2 separate regions of the Homo sapiens genome follow, and region 1 is linked to region 2. The links are contacts of gene promoters, found by promoter capture Hi-C in blood cells and fetal thymus (Javierre and others, 2016). All regions are on one chromosome and are shown on one strand. The core of a region is centred on a gene start or on the middle of the fragment in contact, and the rest is flanking DNA. Distances in the headings are between cores, read along the strand shown.

What was found. The method cuts DNA at HindIII sites, captures the fragments that hold promoters and counts their contacts. A CHiCAGO score of 5 or more calls a contact.
Region 1: a contact is called between the fragment with the promoter of PIGP here and the fragment with the promoter of GET1 in region 2, in 1 of 17 cell types (monocytes). The highest score is 5.8, in monocytes.

Annotation. Positions count from the first base shown.
Region 1 is chr21:37,071,740-37,075,352 of GRCh38, forward strand. PIGP (phosphatidylinositol glycan anchor biosynthesis class P) reads right to left here and starts at 1,332. Exons shown (of 5, transcript NM_153682.3): 1 at 1,261-1,332; 2 at 695-798. The coding sequence starts at 776. It overlaps TTC3 (tetratricopeptide repeat domain 3), which reads left to right and starts at 1,515. Exons shown (of 46, transcript NM_001330683.2): 1 at 1,515-1,734. RefSeq lists silencers at 803-1,082, 1,323-1,642, 1,863-1,922 and an enhancer at 1,230-1,524. The HindIII fragment of the contact is 9,103 bases long and covers 1-3,613 here.
Region 2 is chr21:39,378,453-39,381,949 of GRCh38, forward strand. It overlaps GET1 (guided entry of tail-anchored proteins factor 1), which reads left to right and starts at 1,874. Exons shown (of 5, transcript NM_004627.6): 1 at 1,874-2,034. The coding sequence starts at 1,933. GET1-SH3BGR (GET1-SH3BGR readthrough) reads left to right here and starts at 1,874. Exons shown (of 14, transcript NR_146618.2): 1 at 1,874-2,034. The HindIII fragment of the contact is 3,691 bases long and covers 1-2,161 here.

The DNA of each region.
Region 1 (3,613 bases), core at 82-2,581, 2.3 Mb before region 2:
AAATCATTTTGGGGAGAGACTTGGGACTTGCTGTGTGAGTGGGCATATTAGTGTCTTAGTGAGCATCAGTCTCCTTATCTGTAAAATGGAATGTTATGGGGTTAAATTAAGGGAGATCCAGGACGCAAACGACACACCTTTCAACCCGACTTCTCTGGCCTACTTCTCCTGTTCCCCAGATCCCGCAGGGCACACTGGTGACATCACAAGCTCCTCGGGTCCAAACCCTCTCACGCCCTCATTCAAGGCCTTTCCACTTCTTCCCTCCCTCTTACTCTTTCCTAATCAGCATCAGTGCCAGGGGGAAAGGCCTCTGTAGAAAGCCTTGACTTTCCAGTCTGGTTTCAATGTCTCTCCACCGTGCTCCCTGACACTCATCACACTGAGCATTAACTGTAGATTTACCCATCTGTCTCCTCCACAAGACCACGACCTCCTTAAGGGCAGGGACCAGGCTTTATCCACTTTGCCATCGCGTCTGGTGCTGTATAAATATTTGTAGAGACTAAAACCTCCTAGGCTAGTGCTGGCACACGGAACACTCAGCAAACACGAGATCCCTTCAGATTTTCTTAAAAAGAGACATAGGGAGAAAGAATCAACAGTTCATGTGTGCACAGTCTAACCAATGTATTCTTCCCTTGTCACTGAACGCCAGAAAAAGCCCCTGGCCATCCATCAGGAAAGTACTTACTGAAGCCAAATTGGGAGCTTAAGAAAAGAACAAAGCCATAAATCGCTCTTTCTGGCAATGGCGACGGTGAATTTTCCACCATTTTTCCTGGGGCTTTAGACAATCTGTGGAAAAGGAACACAATCAGCGTCAGCGATGTGCTCCGTGGCACCATTGATCCATTCTCGCCTCCTCGCTCCGCCGCGGGTACGGCCCCCGCCGCGCAGAACCGCCTCCCGCGCCTCCGTCCGCAACCCGCGCCCCCGCCTCGAGCGCATACAGACACCCAGGCTGGCGCGCGCCCCGCAACAGAAGGGGTGGCGGAGGATAGGGCAGGGAGGGGGGTTCTGGGGCGATAGACGCGCGCTCCAGCTCTGCAAGCGTGGCCTCCCTGTGGGAGGGGAGGGCAGGGAACAAGGCTCGCGCGGCGCCCACCAGCATGCGGGCCTACTAGGTCGCGGCGCCCAGGCCCCGGGCCCTGCCCATTCGTGGAGACTTCTATTTCTCATTCGAGGCGGGGTATGGGGGGGCCCTCGACCTCGGGTCCTTCATACGCCCACCCAGGCCCCTCCCGACACCTCGGCCACCTCAGCGCTGAGTTCTCCGCGCAAGCGCCGACTGGGGAGCCGCAGTGGGGAAGAGGAAAACCTGAGGGAAAGGCCTAGGCGCGACGGCAACCCCCACCCTGGCGCAGGCGCACAACGACCCTCCCCGGGTGGGAGCCAGCGAGCGCGGGGGCGGGCGTGATCCCGCGGCTCGCGACGGCGAAGGAGGGGGCGGTGGGGTGCGACTGCGCACGCGCGCTGCCAGCCCACGTGACGCACCTCGCTTCAACGCCGCCACCCGCTCCCTCCCGCCGTCGGCTGACGTGGAGGGCCGGAGGTGGCGGCGGCGGCGGCGGCGGCTGCTGCTGCTGCTGCCCGCGTCCGAGGCTCGCGGGCGGCGGGCCCGGGTGAGTGCACACCCGGCGCGCTGCCGGGCTCCCGGATGTGTCACCTTGTCCCGCTGCAGCCGAGATGCCGGGGGAGCGGGGCCTTCCACACCCCCTCCGTGGGTGTGTGGTGAGTGTGGGTGTGTGCGCGTCTCCTCGCGTCCCTCGCTGAGGTGCCTACTGTGTCTGCATGGGTTGGGTCCCGCGCGATGAGGGGGTGTGGCCGCCATTGCCTACCCCAGTGGGTTTGCCCCCTTGGTCTGGTGCCCCTTCGCGAGCGAGGCCCTGGGATGCCGGTGCGAGGGTGTGAGTAGTCCCTTTGTGCGCAACCCCCCGCTGCCCGTGCCTCGGCCGGTGCGTGGCTGACACCTCCGCTGGGTGGAGGCGCTCGCGTGTCGCCTCGTCGCCCCTTTTGTGTCGGTGTCCGCGCTCCCTGGCGGCTGCGTGGGCGCTCTCGGCCTTGCAGGTGGCCCCCCTTTGTGTTACTGCCCCTGTCTGTGGGCTGCGCGTCCCCTAGCGCGCGTGGCCGCGCCTTCTGCAATTGCGACCCCCGCCTAGAGCCTTGCTCGCGCAAGTGTGCGTCCTTGCGTGTCTCCGAGTGACGCAGAGTGTCTGCGCATGGGTCCTGTTGAGTGCGTGATCTCTTGTGTGCGGATTTAATTCTGTCGAGTGGGTATCTCTTGTGTGCAGGTTTCGTTGGTGAGCGTGAACGTTCGTGCACACCCCTTGCTGTGTGTGCGTGTCACGACTCTGTTGCCACCTGTTTTCGTGTGAACTGGCAGTCCAGTCCAGGGCCTGTCCCCACGGAACGGACCCAGGAGGGGGGTAACCTCGCCGCTCCCCTCGCCCCCGCGCCTCTTTCTGAGCATTCTCTCCCACAGACGCTAATGGGAAGGGGGGTGGACAGGATCGAGTCTGGCCAGCTGCTCCGCAGTGTTGACGCTGCCAGTGTGGCCTCTTCAGCCAGCCTGTTCAGGAGACAGAATAGGGGGATCAAAGATAAAAAATGAAGCCGAGACGTAGGTGAATTTGGGCTGGTACCAGTGCGCCGTGCCTTTTCCAGTGGCGCCCTGGACGCCAAAACCCCCTCAGTTGCAGAGACCTTTCAAAATATATGCACTCTCCTACTGGGCGATGCGGTCCTTAGGCGTTCTTGATGATATTTAATGGTTTATAGAGTATTTTATGGCATTCACCTAAATCTCTTTCCATTTTGCCCAAGATCCTGGCGAGGGAAACAAGGTAGAAATTTTACAGATTTTACTCCTCCGGAGAGAGCCTTTTCCTTATAACTACGACTCTAGTTAGGACATTTTTTGTTGCAAGAAATTTGCGATTTATCCTAAGGAAAATGGGATATAGTATAAGGATACCTAGGGTAAGAAACTTCAAACCCCTTAGAGACCCAGCTACTGCTCCGATTGCTCAAGGTTTCGTGCTCTGCGCTCAAGGGCTGCGTTTTGGTGTCTTTGTTCTGCCCAATTTTCTTATTGTCTAATTTTCCTTTTTTTCTTTTAATTTTTGGAATATTTCAGATATCAAATACAGAGGGGGAGCTAACCAATCCATGATTCAGATTTTACAGACGTGATTATTTAATCTTTTGCCAAATTTACTTCAGATACTCTTTTTTTTTAAAGAAATAAAATTGCTCTCAGTTCCTTCCCCTCCTTTTCTAGAGATAGCCACTGCGTTGAGGTTTGTGTATATCTTTACTTTGCATATTTTATACTTTGATCAAGGTGAATCCATACACAATATATATTATTGTTTGTTTTTAAACTTTAATGGCATTAAAATATACATGCCTTTTTGCAACTTGCTTTTTTTTTTTTTGCTCAGCATCATATTTTGAGGTTTATATATGAACAAATTGAATGATTGTGTTATCTTTGGTTCATTCATTTTAATTGCTGGTATAGAATTGCGTTGTATGAATATACCATATTTATTTATACATTCCCCTGTTGATAGACTTTGAACTTGTTTCAGTTTTTGACTCTTAAAAA
Region 2 (3,497 bases), core at 624-3,123:
CACTCTACCACTACAGAATAGTTTTGCTTCACATGTTTTCTTGACACAGAAATTTGTAGAACCACAGCCTCTTTCTTTTCTTTTCTTTTTCTTTTTCTCTTTCTTTCTCTCTTTCTTTCCTTTCCTTTCCCTTTCTTTCTTTCTTTCTTTCTTTCTTTCTTTCTTTCTTTCTTTCTTTCTTTCTTTCTTTCTTTCTTTCTGTCTCTCTCTCTCTCTTTCTTTCTTTCTTTCTTTCTTTTTCTCTTTCTCTTTCTCTCTTTCTTTCTTTCTTGACAGAGTTTCACTCTTGTCACCCAGGCTGGAGTGCAATGGTGCGATCTCAACTCACTGCAACCTCCGCCTCCCAGGTTCAAGCGATTCTCCTTCTTCTGCCTCCTGAGTAGCTGGGACTACAGGTGCCCGCCACCACACCCAGCTAATTTTTGTATTTTTAATAGAGACAGGGTTTTGCCATGTTGGTCAGGCTGGTCTCGAACTCCTGACCTTAGGTGGTCCACCTGCCTCGGCTTCCCAGAGTGCTGGGATTACAGGCTTGAGCCACTGTGCCCAGCCGCATAATTATTTTAACTGGTTCATAATAATGAGCCAGAGTTGTGCTCTGTCGCCCAGGCTGGAGTCCAGTGGTGTGATCACAGCTCACTGCAGCCTCGACCTCCCAGGCTCAGGCGATCCTCTCATCTCAGCCTCCCTAGTAGCTGAGGCCACAGGCACGTGCCACAGTGCCCGGCTAATTTTTATATTTTATTGTAGAGATGGGGATCTCACTATGTTACCCAGACTGGTTTCAAACTCCTGGGCCTGTGATCCACCTTGCTTGGATCTCCCAAAGTGCTGGGATTACAGGCGTGAGCCAGTGTACCCGCAATCTTGCATCATTTTGATTAGGAATTAGTCCTCAGAAACCAGTCATGGCAGCATGGCAGAAGAGACAGTTGAACATGTCTTGCTTTATCCACTAGGCATACTTTTTTTTTTTTTTGAGACGGAGTCTCGCTCTGTCGCCAGAGCTGGAGTGCAGTGGCGCGATCTTGGCTAACTGCAACCTCCGTCTTCCGGGTTCAAGCGATTCTCCTGCCTCAGCCTCCGGAGTAGCTGGGACTACAGGCGCGCGCCACCACGCCCGGCTAATTTTTGTATCGTAGAGACGGGGTTTCACCATGTTGGCCAGGCTGGTTTCAATCTCTTGACCTCATGACCTGCCCGCCTCGGCCTCTCAAAGTGCTGGGATTACAGGCGTGAGCCACCTCGCCCTGCTCACTTTGCATACATTTGAGTTGGGATTCTTTCGCTGCAAAACCTGATCTTCACCTAGATTCAGGTTAATTTATTAACTATTACTAATGATTGTGAACAGTGCATTCTATTAAACTTATTTTTCAGGTATGCAGTTGTGTAAATTGGTTAGACTTACTACAGTGTTTAGATCTGGAACGAAAACGTAAGGCATTTTCCATGTAACTGCTTGGAACACGACAGTTACCTGCTACTATAAAAACGGTAGTTTTCTATTTATGGAAGAGTTTTTCTTAAACTTATCTAGAATTAAAAGTTAATTTAAAGAAAGTACTAATTATGACAAAAGCAGGGAGTCGTTAGCACTTGAAACCAGAGTTTGGTACTATGAGAAGGTTTTTAATTTTAAAAAGAAGGAAAAAAAGAAACACGGACGTCAGAAAACTGGTTCAGTAGGGATGGGTGCTAGAAGGCTACGGAACCGCCGAAGGCCCAGGAGAAACCCGGAACGTGTTAACCGCTCCAACTGGAGCCGGACGAAAAAACGGCCCCGCCTCCCGCGAGGGCGACGCAGTTCGCAGGCGCGTCGGCGCGCCTGTTCTGGGGCGCTTGGCTTCACCGCGCAGGCGCGGTCGCCGCTGTTGTTGTGGTCCCCATGGAGCTGCCGTAGCGGACCCAGCACAGCCAGGAGCGTCCGGGATGAGCTCAGCCGCGGCCGACCACTGGGCGTGGTTGCTGGTGCTCAGCTTCGTGTTTGGATGCAATGTTCTTAGGATCCTCCTCCCGTCCTTCTCATCCTTCGTAAGTGGCTGCCTGGCCTCCCAAGGGCCGGTGGGGATGCCGCCCCAGTCCCCCGGCGGGTCTGGCGTAGGTACAGGGGTCTCAACTGGGCGACTGAAGGCCGTAGTAGCGTCTTGGTTGGTCCGTAAGCTTTTTTGAGATAGTTGTTAGCGTCTAAAAGGTACGACGCTTTACCCCAAAATCAGACTTTCTGGGTTCTAGGGGGTTGGGAGAAACACCGGGCAACCCTGGACTCTTCTGGCTGTGGGTGGCGGCGGCGAACCTCACACTGGGAGTTCCTAGTGCCCCGCTGTCAGCCTCGTTTCCGTTAATCCTGGTTCCTAGAGGCATTCGAGCAGCCCTCGGCCAGGGTTTCCCAGAGGCCTGGCGGGCGAAGTCAGCTGTTCCAGGTCCCGGAGAGATGGATCCTCGCGTCCAGGAGCCCACATTCTTGGGGTGGGTAGGGTGGGAGACAGGTGTAGAGAGAATCTCAGTACAGCGTGATGCCTTCAGTATCCAAGGGAGCAACCAGGTTGGGGAACACTCTCTTTCTGCCAGGTAGTGAGTACATTACCTCTGTCTCACGGCTGCTGGGAGAGGCGAGTATTATCATCCCACCCTCCTTTACCTCCCGGAGGAGTCTGGCTCAAGAGAATTTAGTGGTGGCACTAAGTCATCCACCTAGTGACTGGAGGTGGAGATTTGATTGCCTTTTGGAGCAGGGATAGGGATTTGGTGGCAAATTGGACAGGGCGTGGTGGGGTGTGGCCATGGAAGGCGGGGGTACCTTGGGAACTGTCCCCGAGAATGAGCGCCCTCCGTATGCCCACAGCAGAAATGAGGAGCTGTTGGGCAAAGGCGGAGTCCTCAAAGATTGGGCGCATTCGTTTCAGCGTTGTCTTGGAAAACAGTTCTTGCTTTTCTCTCCTAAGATAAATTGGTAGTAGTGGAGGATATTTTATTCCACCAGTATTCATTGAGTGCCTGTTTTGTGCAAAACTCTATTCTTACTCTCTCAATTGTCCTACTGTCTGCATTGTCCTGAGATATAGGGAATTCTCTTTTAACCCCTGAGTCTCCTTCAGAATCTTTCCTGATGCTATCCAGTCTTTAAGATGATGTCTCAGGCATTGCATAAAAGACTCCTGATGAGCTGGCCCATGCTCATCTTCTTGTTTTTAATTGTAAAATACACATAATATGAAGTTTATCATCTTTATCATTTTTAGGTGTACAGTTCAGTGGCATTAAGTACATTCACATTTTTGTGCAACCATTATCCCAGAACTTTATTATTATTATTTTAAGACAGGGTCTGGCTCTGTGCAGTGGTGTAATCTCGACTCATTGCAACCTCTGCCTCCCAGGTTCAAGTGATCCTCCCACCTCAGCCTCCCAAGTAGCTGGGACCACAGGCATGCACCACCACGCCCAGGTATTTTTTTGTATTTTTAGTAGAGACAGAGCTTTGCCATGTTGGCCAG